2 separate regions of the Homo sapiens genome follow, and region 2 is linked to region 1. The links are contacts of gene promoters, found by promoter capture Hi-C in blood cells and fetal thymus (Javierre and others, 2016). All regions are on one chromosome and are shown on one strand. The core of a region is centred on a gene start or on the middle of the fragment in contact, and the rest is flanking DNA. Distances in the headings are between cores, read along the strand shown. Region 1 holds the start of HSPA9 (heat shock protein family A (Hsp70) member 9). Region 2 overlaps CDC23 (cell division cycle 23).

Evidence for each region. The method cuts DNA at HindIII sites, captures the fragments that hold promoters and counts their contacts. A CHiCAGO score of 5 or more calls a contact.
Region 2: a fragment that was not itself captured here is called in contact with the fragment with the promoter of HSPA9 in region 1 in 1 of 17 cell types (neutrophils); the score reaches 5.5 in neutrophils.

Annotation. Positions count from the first base shown.
Region 1 is chr5:138,572,210-138,578,260 of GRCh38, forward strand. HSPA9 (heat shock protein family A (Hsp70) member 9) reads right to left here and starts at 3,192. Exons shown (of 17, transcript NM_004134.7): 1 at 3,029-3,192; 2 at 1,859-1,917; 3 at 1,554-1,641. The coding sequence starts at 3,109. All of the region lies in intron 1 of LOC105379193 (a long non-coding RNA gene), which reads left to right. RefSeq lists enhancers at 2,773-3,420, 2,937-2,986, 3,227-3,506, 3,421-4,069, 3,647-3,786. The HindIII fragment of the contact is 10,827 bases long and covers 1-6,051 here.
Region 2 is chr5:138,204,228-138,210,272 of GRCh38, forward strand. CDC23 (cell division cycle 23) reads right to left here. Exons shown (of 16, transcript NM_004661.4): 3 at 2,320-2,457. Among named protein-coding and RNA genes, the nearest start is that of CDC23, 6.1 kb to the right of the region's middle. The HindIII fragment of the contact is 2,438 bases long and covers 2,472-4,909 here.

The sequences.
Region 1 (6,051 bases), core at 1,942-4,441:
CAGGCATGACCCACCAGGCCTGGCCCTGATTTACATTTTAAAAACTGCTTTGGTTGCTTAAGACTCTTGTCAGGTGAACCTTTGTAGTGCTGATAATTGTATGTATCTAACTTCCCAGAAAAGGATTTAAATGTGGTATAGAGGTAGGACTACTAATTTACTATTAAGAGGGGTGGGAATGGCTTGCACTGTTTGGTTACTCTGGTAACCACCAAAGTGCTGCATTTTCTAAATTGAAACAAAGTTGGGTGTGCAGAGACAGACTAGAAGTGGAGCTTCATCTCTGAAGTAATGCATGTTGTTCATTGGAGCAGGCTATTTCTTTTGAAGCCTCCTTACTCTGTACATGCAACCTTTATTCCCACCGGGTTCTTAGCAAGATTTAGAACACCTGGAATTCTTGACTCTTGCTTCTTCCATTCATGGCCTCTTTTGCTTTCATACTTCCTTTCCCCCCAATCTCCTCTTCTGAAATAACCTGAACTGTCTATGGTCTTCTTATCCCACTTGTTTGGCACCAAGAGATTATTCCTTCTCTTGGCCCTAATTTGGGCTTCTTGGCATTTTTCCTATATGCCTGATATCTGTGGCCAACCCCCCAAAAAACTTAGAAGTAGATATAATTCTCCATGTGGAAGTAAAGATTCTTGTCCCAACATTGGGTATGAAAAACCTGATCTATAGTCTCTTCTTTTTTTTTTTTTGAGACAAAGTCTCGCTCTGTCACCCAGGCTGGAGTACAGTGATGTGATCTTGGCTCACTGCAACCTCCACCTCCTGGGTTCAAGCGATTCTCCTGCCTCAGCCTCCCGAGTAGCGGGGACTACAGGTGTGTGCCACTACGCCCAGCTAATTTTTGTATTTTTAGTAGAGACAGGTTTCACCATGTTGGCCAGAATGGTCTCGATCTCTTGACCTTGTGATCCACCCGCCTTGGCCTCCCAAAGTGCTAGGATTTCAGGTGTGAGCCACTGTACCCGGCCAATTTTTTGCATTTTTAGTAGAGACGGGGTTTCACCATTTTGGCCGGGCTGGTCTTGAACTTGGGACCTCAGGTAATCCACCCCCCTTGGCCTCCCAAAGTGCTGGGACTGCAGGCGTGAGCCATTATGCCCGGTCAGCCCTGATCTATAGTTATGTTTTTGCTGTTTTAGTTGGAAGTACTTCGAGGCCAGGCTTAGTGGTTCACATCTGTAATCCCAGCACTTTGGAGGCCAACGTGGGCGGATCACTTGAGCTCAAGACCAGCCTGGCCAACACAGTGGAACTGTCTCTACTGAAAATACAAAAAATTAGCCAGGAATGGTGGTTCATGCCTGTAATCCCAGCTATGTGGCCAAGGCAGGAGAACTGTTTGAACCCAGGAGGCAGAGGTTGCAGTGAGCGGAGACCGTGCCACTGCACTCCACCATGGGCTATAGAGACTGTCTCCAAAAAAAAAAAAAAAAAAAAAAAAAAAGCGCAAATCAGGTTCTCAAATTCCTTAACTAAGGAAAAGAGCACAGAATTCTGGACAGATTCTGGATAAGGTACTAGTTATCAATCATGCTCACCTTTGCTTGTTTACCTTCCATAACTGCCACGCAGGAGTTGGTAGTACCCAAATCAATACCAACAACTGCTCCCTTGATTGCTTCTGATCTGTAAGACATTTAGAACAGTGTCACAGCTATTGTTATCTTGATAGACCAAAGTCACTGGAAGATAATATTTAATTGGAAAATTAACAGTGGTATACTACATAATCTCTAAATAAATACAGATAAATAATTACAGAGAAGAATAATCACAAATGTAGAAAACACTGCTTTGAAGTTTAATATGTATTCCCTCTCAAAGGAAATGATATTATACTTACGCATAATCCCGCCTTGAAACAAGTCTAAAAGCCTCATGACTAAGGCCATTCCAGCTATCCTAAAAAAGAAAAAACTGACTCAGTCACCAACCAGTGTGTATCCTGGGAGGAAAAAGAGAAAACTTGGGCTCACTTAGTATATAAAATACATTAAGCTACTAAAACAGTAAATATTAAAGTTTCCCAAATAAGTAAGACGAAAAAAGGTAAATAAAAGATGGCCTTAGAATCACATTACAGTAGGATTTCTCAACCGTGGCGCTATTAATTTTGGGCGAAATTTTTGTGGTGGGGGCTGTTCTGTGCATTGTAGGATATACAGCAGCATCCCTGGCCTCGACACCCTAGAAACCAATAAGCACCCCAGTAAGTAAGTGACAACCTAAAATATCCACAGACATTGCCAGATGTCCCCTGGGGGAAAACACTTCCCCTTACCTTGCCGTGCAATTAGTTTAAAAGAACTAGAGTTACTAAGGGTCTTTGAAAGAAAAAAGAAAAGTAGTGGCGTTTCACTAGGATAAAAGACCTTTATTACAACTTAACCTCAGGCTCCTTCCAAGCCTTCCTTAATGCCCACATACAATTCCTGTTCTCTAAAGCATTTGTCTTTTATTTTAGAAAACAAGTAACCACTCCATAGCCTTTTCTCCGCCCCACGATCTGCTTTTTTTTCTGAAGTAACAAACGAGTACAATCTTACACCACAGATTTTGAGAAAATGTTGCTAAGCACGAAAACTGGAGTTCCGACTCAGAGCTTTCTTATTTTATTTCACCGTATCAACGGGATCCTTACACACTCTGTATTCTGTAGAGGAGCCAAAAATAAAACTGAAAATAGTGGCTTTCCCAATAGACTGCATCCCTCACCCCCAAGGCCAAACCTTTCCATTCAGCCACAGAACAGGCCATGAGGACCACTACCTGGTAATTTTGAAATGACACTCTAGATCGCGAGGGGTGTGACTCAGCAGGGCCCAAGCCGGAGGCAAAACCTTGGGCAAAATCTTGACCCGGCAGCGCTAACTATGGAAGGCCCGTTACCTTCCTTCCCGCCTGACCTATACTGGAGAATTCAAACCCTAAAGGGCGCGCGGCCTGCCGCAGCGAAGCCCGAGGCCCAAGGCCCGAGGCCGTGACCCCATTCGGGAAGGTCCCAGTTCCTCACCTGGTGGCGGGCGGCCGTAGGGCCCCGGGAGGCTGCGGCGCCCACGAGACGGGCTGCTGCAGCTCGGCTGGCACTTATCATGGCGGATAAATGGAGGAGTACGAGGCAGCAAACAAGCGCTCCGACGGCAAAGAGCTGCGCGATGCGGTGGCGGCAGCGCTTCTGGAAACCTCCAACCACGTGGGGTGAGGGGCGGGGGTTGGTCACTGCGGCCCAGAGGCCCGCTCTTCCGCTGAGGCGCCGCCCGCGCCGCCTGACCAGAGGATACTCGACTGCCGCTCCCGGAGCCAGGGCGTACAGGTAATATGCTCCGCAGCATGATGGTTGGAGAAAGCCTGCCCTCCTGTCCCGGCTGCGGCGGCTCTGAGCTCAGAAAGAGTCCAGGGGAGGAAGAGGGATATGAAGGCCGTATCTCGGACAGCCCCGGTCCTCGGCGACAGGAAAGACTCAAGGTCACACGGGATAAATTGCGAACCGATTACAGTCTTCTTGCGTCAGTTGCGCGGGAGGAGGAGCCTGTTGGCGCAACAGACATCCAGCTAAGAACCTAGAGCGCATGTGCGCAAGGAGTGGCGGAAAACATGGGTGGAGACTAACTGCGGCGCTCACTGGGTGCCCGAGTGCACGCCAGCGTTCCCTGGGGCGAGCCCGGGCGCGTGCACACCCCCCGGGCGTGGACGTGTTCCCAGCTCCCGCTCCTGGAGGACGGCGCCATCTTGTCTTGTGGCTTTGTGAAGTGAGGACGTCAGTACTTTTGTTGTTTGGTCCCGCCCGTTGTTCACAACTTGAAAGACACTTGGATATGCAGACAGACGTTAAACAATTTCGTGTTGCGTTTTATCACAGGGGTCTTGGGTTTCCAACTACGAAGCGTTTGATTCACACAGAACATTAGGCCAATTAGCCTGCACAAAGGGAAAAAAAAATAGCTGAGCTTGGCCGGGCGCTCACGCCTGTAATCCCAGCACTTTTGGGAGGCCGAAGCGAGCGGATCGCGAGGTTAGGAGATCGAGACCATCCTGGCTAACACGGTGAAACCCCGTCTCTACTGAAAATACGAAAAAGTAGCCGGGCGTGGTGGCAGGCGCTTGTAGTCCCAGCTACTCGGGAGGCTGAGGCAGGAGAACGGCGTGAACCCGGGAGGCGGAGCTTGCAGTGGGCCGAGATCGCGCCACTGCACTCCAGCCTGGGCGACAGAGCGAGACTCCGTCTCAAGAAAAAAAAGAAAAATAGCTGAGCTTCAGGCTCTTCCTCTCCCCACTGTGCTGGGCCTGACTTGAGACTCCTCTGGCCCTTTTTAAACCTTGTGCTGGTGGCAGGATGTCAACTACTTCACTACCCTGTGACCAGTTTTTAGGTTTTTGTTTTTTTTTTTGAGGCAGTCTTTGTCGCCAGGCTTGAGTGCAGTGGCGCCATCTCGGCTCACTGCAACCTCTGACTCCCTGGTTCAAGCTATTCTCCTGCCTCAGCCTCCCAAGTAGATGGGATTACAGGCGCGCGCCACCACGCCCAGCTAATTTTTATATTTTTGGTAGACACCGGGTTTCACCATGTTGGCCAGGATGGTCTCGATCTCCTGACCTCGTGATCTGCCTGCCTCGGCCTCCCAAAGTGCTGGGATTACAGGCGTGAGCCACCGCGCCCAACCCAGTTTTAGATTTTTAAGAAGAGGAATTAATTGATTCAACAGATATGTTTTGGCATGCCTACCGTGTGTCAGTCACTCTCCCAGGTGGTAGGAATACAGCGAAAGCAAAACACGAACGAATGGCTGATGACAGATTGAACTTGATTTTGGAGATGAAGCAATTTGTCCTGGAAGCCCGCTTTCAAAAAAAGAGAAATGTTTCAGACCCCCTATCTCTTCAGGAAGATCTGTATTATTAAGTAGTCACCCCTGGGTGAGGAACTGTGAAGGAAATGTTGGGGAAAGTTGGGGAGGGAAAGAAGCTAACTGAAGAGTTTACATTCTGAGGAGGATGGCAGTGGGAGTAAGAAAATAAACAAAAGTCTAACGTAACATGGGTTATAGATTATATAGATTCTAAAAGTTTTTAAAAAGCCTCCCACACACTCTTAACTGTCAGCTATTACTATATTATCCTCACTAGTTACTTAACACTTCATTTCTCTTGTTTTTAGTTCTCTCAGAAGGCAGGGGTGGCCAGGCGGTGGCTCACGCCTGTAATCCCAGCACTTTGGGAGGCCGAGGTGGGAGGATCACTTGAACCCAGGAGTTCGAGATCAGCCTGAGCGACAGAGTGAGACTCCATCTTTAGCCTCTGTCGCCCAGGCTGCAGTGTAGTGGTGCAGTCTCAGCTTACTGCAGCCTCCACCTCTCTGGGCTCAGATGATTCCAGTGCCGCCTCAGCGCCCCCCTCCCCCGAGTAGCTGGGATTACAGACATGCGGCACTACGCCTGGCTAATTTTTGTATTTTTCGTAGAGACGGGGTTTCGCCTTGTTGCCCAGGCTGGTCTCCAACTCCTGAACTCAAGGGATCCGCCCGCCTCGGCATCCCAAATGCTGGAATTACAGGCGTGAGCCACTGCGGCCGGCCAATTTTTTTTTTTTTTTTTTTTAAATTGGCTGGGCATGGTAGCAAGCACCTGTAGTCCCACCTACTTGGGAGGCTGGAGTGGGAGGATCACTTGAGTTCAGGAATTTGAGAACAGCCTGGGCAACATGGCAAAACCCCATTTCTACAAAAAATTAGCCGGGCATGGTGGTGCACCTGTAGTCCCAGCTACCAGCTACTCGGGAGGCTGAGGTGGAAGAATCACCTGAGCCAAGAGAGGTCGAGGCTGCAGTGAGTCGTGATTATGATTGTGCCATTTCACTCCAGTCTGGGTGACACAGCGAGACATTAAAAAAAACAAAAAACAAAAAAACAGAAAGAAAGGAGAAAGGAAGGAAGGAGGGAGGGAAGGAGGGAAAGAAGGAAGGAGAAAAGGAAATAAGGAAAGGAAGGAAAGAGAAAGAGAGAAAAGAAAGATGCGGCCGGGCGTGGTGGCTCACGCCTGT
Region 2 (6,045 bases), core at 2,441-4,940, 370 kb before region 1:
GGCACAGTGGCTCACGCCTGTAATCCCAGCACTTTGGGAGGCCAAGGCAGGTGGATCACCTGAGGTCAGGAGTTCGAGACCAGCCTGACCAATATGATGAAACCCCATCTCTACTAAAATTACAAAAATTAACTGGACATGCTGGCATGCACCTGTAGTCCCAGCTACTTGGGAGGCTGAGGTAAGAGAAAGGCTTGAACCCGGGAGGCAGAGGTTGCAGTGAGTTGAGATCGCACCACTGCACTCCAGCCTGGGTGACAGAGAAAGACTCCATTTCAAAAAAAAAAAAAAAAAGTACATAAGTATTCTTTGTACTATTCTTATTCTCGCAACTTGTCAATTTGGAATCATTTTCAAATAAAAGGTTAAAAAGCAAAGTAAACATTCAGACTCTCTTTTTTCTTTTTTTGGAGACGGAGTCTCACTCTGCCGCCCAGGCTGGAGTATAGTGGTATGATCTCGGCTCACTGCAAGCTCCACCTTCCGGGTTCACGCCATTCTCCTGCCTCAGCCTCCCGAGTAGCTGGGACTACAGGCGCTCGCCACTGCGCCCAGCTAATTTTTTGTATTTTTAGTAGAGACGGGGTTTCACCGTGGTCTTGATCTCCTGACCTCGTGATCCGCCCGCCTCTGCCTCCCAAAGTGCTGGGATTACAGGCGTGAGCTACCGCGCCCGGACTTTTTCTTTCTTTCTTTTTTTTTTTGGTGACAGGGTCTTGCTCTGTTGCCCAGGCTGGAGTATAGTGGTACAATCTTGGCTCACTGTAACCTCCACCACCTGGGCTCAAGCGATCCTCCTATCTCAGCCTCCCAAGTAGCTGGGGCCACAGGCACACACCACCACACCTGGCTAATTATTGTATTTTTTGTAGAGACGGGGTTTCACCATGCCGCCCGGGCTTCCTTTTATATTTTATATATTTGCCTTAAGGAACTTTATTTTATCCCAAACTTCAGCAAATGCTGGTTCTATTCTACCATAACTCATCCAAATTAGTGCTTCTACACAGGTATAGATTGTATGTGAAAGATTAACTTTTTAAATCCCATAATTTCAAAATATCTTTCTTAAACTCATGGAGATAAGCAAACTGTGGTATATAAATACAATGGAATATTATTAAACTTTAAAAAAGGAAATTCTTATATATGCTACAACATGGATGAAACTTGACAGCATTATGGTAAGTGAAATAAGCCAGTCACAAAGAGACTAATACTGCATGATTCCACTTATGTAAGGTACTTAGAGTAGTCCAGATCATAGAAACAGAAAATAGAATAGTGGTTGCCAAGGGGTCCACCTTGGGGAAAGGGAAAAATGGAGAGTTATTGTTTAATGGGTATAGAATTTTAGTTTTACAAGATAAAAAATGTTCTAGAGATGGGTGGTGGTGATGGTTGCACATTATGAATGCATTTAATACCACTGAACTGTACACTTTAAAAATGTTAAAATGGTAAATTGGAAAAAAAAAAAAAAAACAAAGATGACTTAAACATAGTCCATAACTGCAAGAATTTACCACGCTTGACAAATACAAGCTATGCTAATAGTTGATCAACCTAAATCATAAGATCTGAAATCTGCATTGCTCCAAAACCCAAAACTTTTTCAGCACCAATGACACTCAAAGCACCAATGACACTCACTGCAGCATTTTTTATTTCAACCAGTAAGTATAATGCAAATATACCAAAATCTGAAAAAAATCTGAAATCTGAAACACTTTTGGTCCCAAGCACTTCAAATAAGGGATACTCAACCTGTACTAGGAAATGAGAAGTACATAAAATGTTTTTTTAATCAATTTATATAGATAACAACTAAGAAAAAGTAGGAAAGTAAATTCATAATGTTTCAAAGTAAAATAATAAATTGTACTTATTATTCAATACAGTATTAAGTTGGTTTACTTGCATTGTCCTTTACAGTCATACTTTTTAATAGCCATGAAAGAAAAACAATAAATATACTATAAACATGATAAATGAATTTATAAATTTAAAAGTCAGCCCAGGCTTTTTAACTTAATTCTTACACAATAATATTAATTCACAGGCATGAAGAACCTTATATAACCTAAAGTAAATAAATAATCAGGTTGTTACTTATCCTGTTAGTCATTCCTAAGAATATTTTCTTCTCTACCATCCTTTTTAACTTTATTTATGATATCTTTTTTTTATTATTGCTATGTATAAAGTACATTCATTCAGTGGCCCACTGCTAAGCTATTTAAAAGATTTAACTTTTCCATTGGTTCTAAATATGGATGTTTCACTAAAGGCAGAATGACATTTTAAAATGGCCCTCACCAGATATCTGGAATACATATACAGAAAATAGGCTTTCTTGCTATTGCAGCCATGCAGGAAATGTGCTGCCCGATCATACTCTTTAACGTCAAAGTAGGCCTTGGCCAGGGTATAGGCATCCATATCCTGGGCATCTTCCTAAAAAAGAAACAAGCTTATGTAAGTGGTTGGGAATAGGACAACAAAACTTCAAATCTAAAAAGTATATTCGTTAATTTCAAGATGTAAAAGAAAAAGGATTGTTTTCTTCCTCCTAAAAACCTAGAATATGTAGATGCATATATATATAATTTTATATATTTATTTTATTACCAAGTAAGCCCATAGAACTCTTTTTTTTTTTTTTTTTTTGAGACAGAGCCTCACTCTGTCACCCAGGCTGGAGTGCAGTGGCGCAATCTCAGCTCACTGCAACCTCTGCCTCCCAGGTTCAAGCGATTATTGTGCCTCAGCTGCCAGAGTAGCTGGGATTACAGGTGTGCGCCACCACTTCCAGCTAATTTTTGTATTTTTAGTAGTGATGGGGTTTCGCCATGTTGGCCAGGCTGGTCTCAAACTCAGGGCCTCAAGTGATCTGCCTGCCTCGGCTTCCCAAAGTGCTGGAATTACAGGTATGAGCGACCGCACCCGGCCAAGTTTTTCTTTCTAATTTTTTCAAAATAAAAAAATGGAGAAAAAAGAAAACTTTAAAAAACTAAACGAACACTCATAAATGTGTATTGTTTCTATAAATGTAGTAGAAAGTTGAATAGGCTTTAGTGTTAAGGACCTAGATTCAAATTCTGACTTTTTGATTTCCTGGTTTCAGGACATTGGTAGGGAGGTTACTTAGCTTCTCTTAGCATCCATTTCTTCATCTGTAAAATGAAGCCAATAATACTGACCTTACAGATTTGACTTGAGGAAAATGTGAGTCACATAAAATATCCAGCATTAATACTGGCATTCTATTCCTTCTCCTGTCTTTTACAGTCCTACATAAATGCAATGTACGTGCAATTACTTATATTTTTTGTACTTCAATAAAGTTTTGTCATAATTTAGTATTGCTGAAGGCACAGAACACAGCTGTAATTCTCTATGTTAAAAAAAAATTAGATAATGTCACATTTAAGTTAAAAACATACAATCCTTGGCTGAGCGCAGTGGCTGTAATCCCAGCACTGTGGGAGACCAGGGCAAGAGGATGGCTTGAACTCAGGAGTTCAGGACCGGCCTGGGCAACGTGGCAAGACCCTGCCTCTACTAAAAATACAAAAAAATAGTTGGGCATGGTACTATGTGCCGGGGGTCCCAGCTACTCGGGAGGCTGAGCCTTGCTGCAGTGAGCCAAGATCGCGCCACATCACTTCAATCTGGTGACGTAGCAAGACTCTGTCTCAAAAAAAAAACAAAAAACAAAAATTCAATCCCCCAAATTCTTTTTTTTTTTTGAGACAGAGCCTCGCTCTGTCGCCTAGGATGGAATGCAGTGGTGTGATATTGGCTGACTGTAACCTCCACCTTCTAGGTTCAAGCAATTCTCCTGCCTCGGCCTCCCTAGCAGCTGGGATTACAGGTGCCCGCCACCATGCCTGGCTAATTTTTGTATTTTAGTAGAGACGGAGTTTCACCAGGCTGGTCTTGAACTCCTGACCTCAAGCGATCCACCCGCCTTGAACTCACAGCAGAGTGCTGGGATTACAGGCACGAGCCACCACCGGCCCAATCCTCCAAATTCTAAGGATGAGTTAATTAAAATTTGAATAACTGTATTTTCCTCATCTTTCTTGCCCCAAATATCACCAGAACAAAACTGGAACCAAAACATATTCAGTGCTTTCTTCATTAGATCAACATGTCCTAAATACGACCATTTGATTTAGGATTCTGGAGGCCCTTCTCATATCAACTCACCACTTGTTTATTTCTTTCCCCCTAACTCTTTCACCTGCATTATGCCTTTTTGAGTAAGAAATACTTGTTATTGCTGAATGGGACAAAAAAATCAAGAAAGGCATCATCAGGAAAACAAAATGGATTATAATGAAAAGCATTCAGATTATACAAGACTATGTATACATGCATACTATAGGCCCAGCATAAAATATATTCGTAACAGTCGATATATCCTTATAATTCAGAAAGTTTTACTATTTGGATTATATAATCTTAAATTTTTCTGTTTCATTCTTGCTTATGGGAAGAATCTGGAATGTTCTACTGAAAATTACATGTAATTTAGAGGCATTTAGCATTTGGCTGAGTTTTGTTTCGTTTTGAGACAGGATCTCACTCTGTCTCCTGGGCTGCAGTGTAGTGGCGCAATCTCAAATCACTCCAACCTCAGCCTCCTGGGCTCAAGTGATCCTCCTCCCACCTCAGCCTCTGAAGTCACTGGGTCCACAGGTGCGTGCCACCGCACCACCATGTATTTCTAGTACAGATATAGTTTCACTATGTTGCTTAGGCTGGTCTGGAACTCCCGGCCTCAAGCAGTCCTCCCAAAGTGCTGGGATTACAGGCATGGGCCACCATGCTCAGCCAGGTTGAGTTTTTAAACCAAGAAGCCACAATTGGTCCTAGTCACATCTTATATTCAGAAAAGCTAAGCTTCAGGGCCAGGTGTGGTGGCTCATGCCTGTAATCCCAGCACTTTGGGAGGCTAAGACAGGTGGATCACCTGAGGTCAAGAGTTCAAGACCAGCCTAGCCAACATGGTGAAACCCCATCTCTACTAAAAATACAAAAAATTAGCCAGGTGTGGTGGTGAGCACCTGTAATCCCAGCTACTTGGGAGGCTGAGGAAGGAGAATCACTTGAACCTGGGAGGTGGAGGTTGCAGTAAGTGGAGATCATGCCATTGCACTCCAGCCTGGGCAACAGAGTGAGACTCAAAAAAAAAAAAAGAAAAGAAAAGAAAAGAAAAGCTTTAAGTCCAAGACAAAGGATAACGAGTTTAAGGCCTTATATGACATGCTTCTTTGGTAATGTTTATAAAACACTGAGAGTAAGCAAGCCGGGTGTGGTGGCTCACACCTGTAATCCTAGCACTTTGGGAGGCTGAGGTGGGTGGATCACCTAAGGTCAGCAGTTTGAGGCCAGCCTGGCCAACATGGTGAAACCTCGTCTCTGTTAAAAATACAAAAATTAGCCAGGCGTGGTGGCACATTCGGTAATCCCGGCTATTCGGGAGGCTGAGGCAGGAGAATCACTGAAACCCAGGAGCCAGAGGTTGCAGTGAGCCGATATTGGGCCATTGCACCCTAGCCTGGGTAATACAGCAAAACTCCGTCTCAAAAAAAAAAAAAAATTGAGAGTAAGCTATAACAAACATCTACTACGTAGATTGAGCAAGCATAATACTCTTGCATTTTAATAACTTTAAATATCACAGTTATGGCTGAGAGCAGTGAATCATGCATGTAATCCCAGCACAGCACTTTGGGAGGCTGAGAGGGGTGGATCACTTGAGGTCAGGAGTTCGAGACCAGCCTGGCCAACATGGTGAAACCTCCTCTCTACTAAAAATACAAAAAAATTAGCCAGGTGTTGTGGCATGCACCTGTAATCCCAGCTACTCAGGAGGCTGGGACAGGAGAATTGCTTGAACCTGGGAGGTGGAGGTTGCGGTGAGCCGAGATTGAGCCACTGCACTCCAGCCTGGGTAACAGTGCAAGACTCCGTCTCAAAAAAAAAAAAAAAAATTCACAGTTTTGGCCAGGCACGGTGGCTCACACCTGTAAC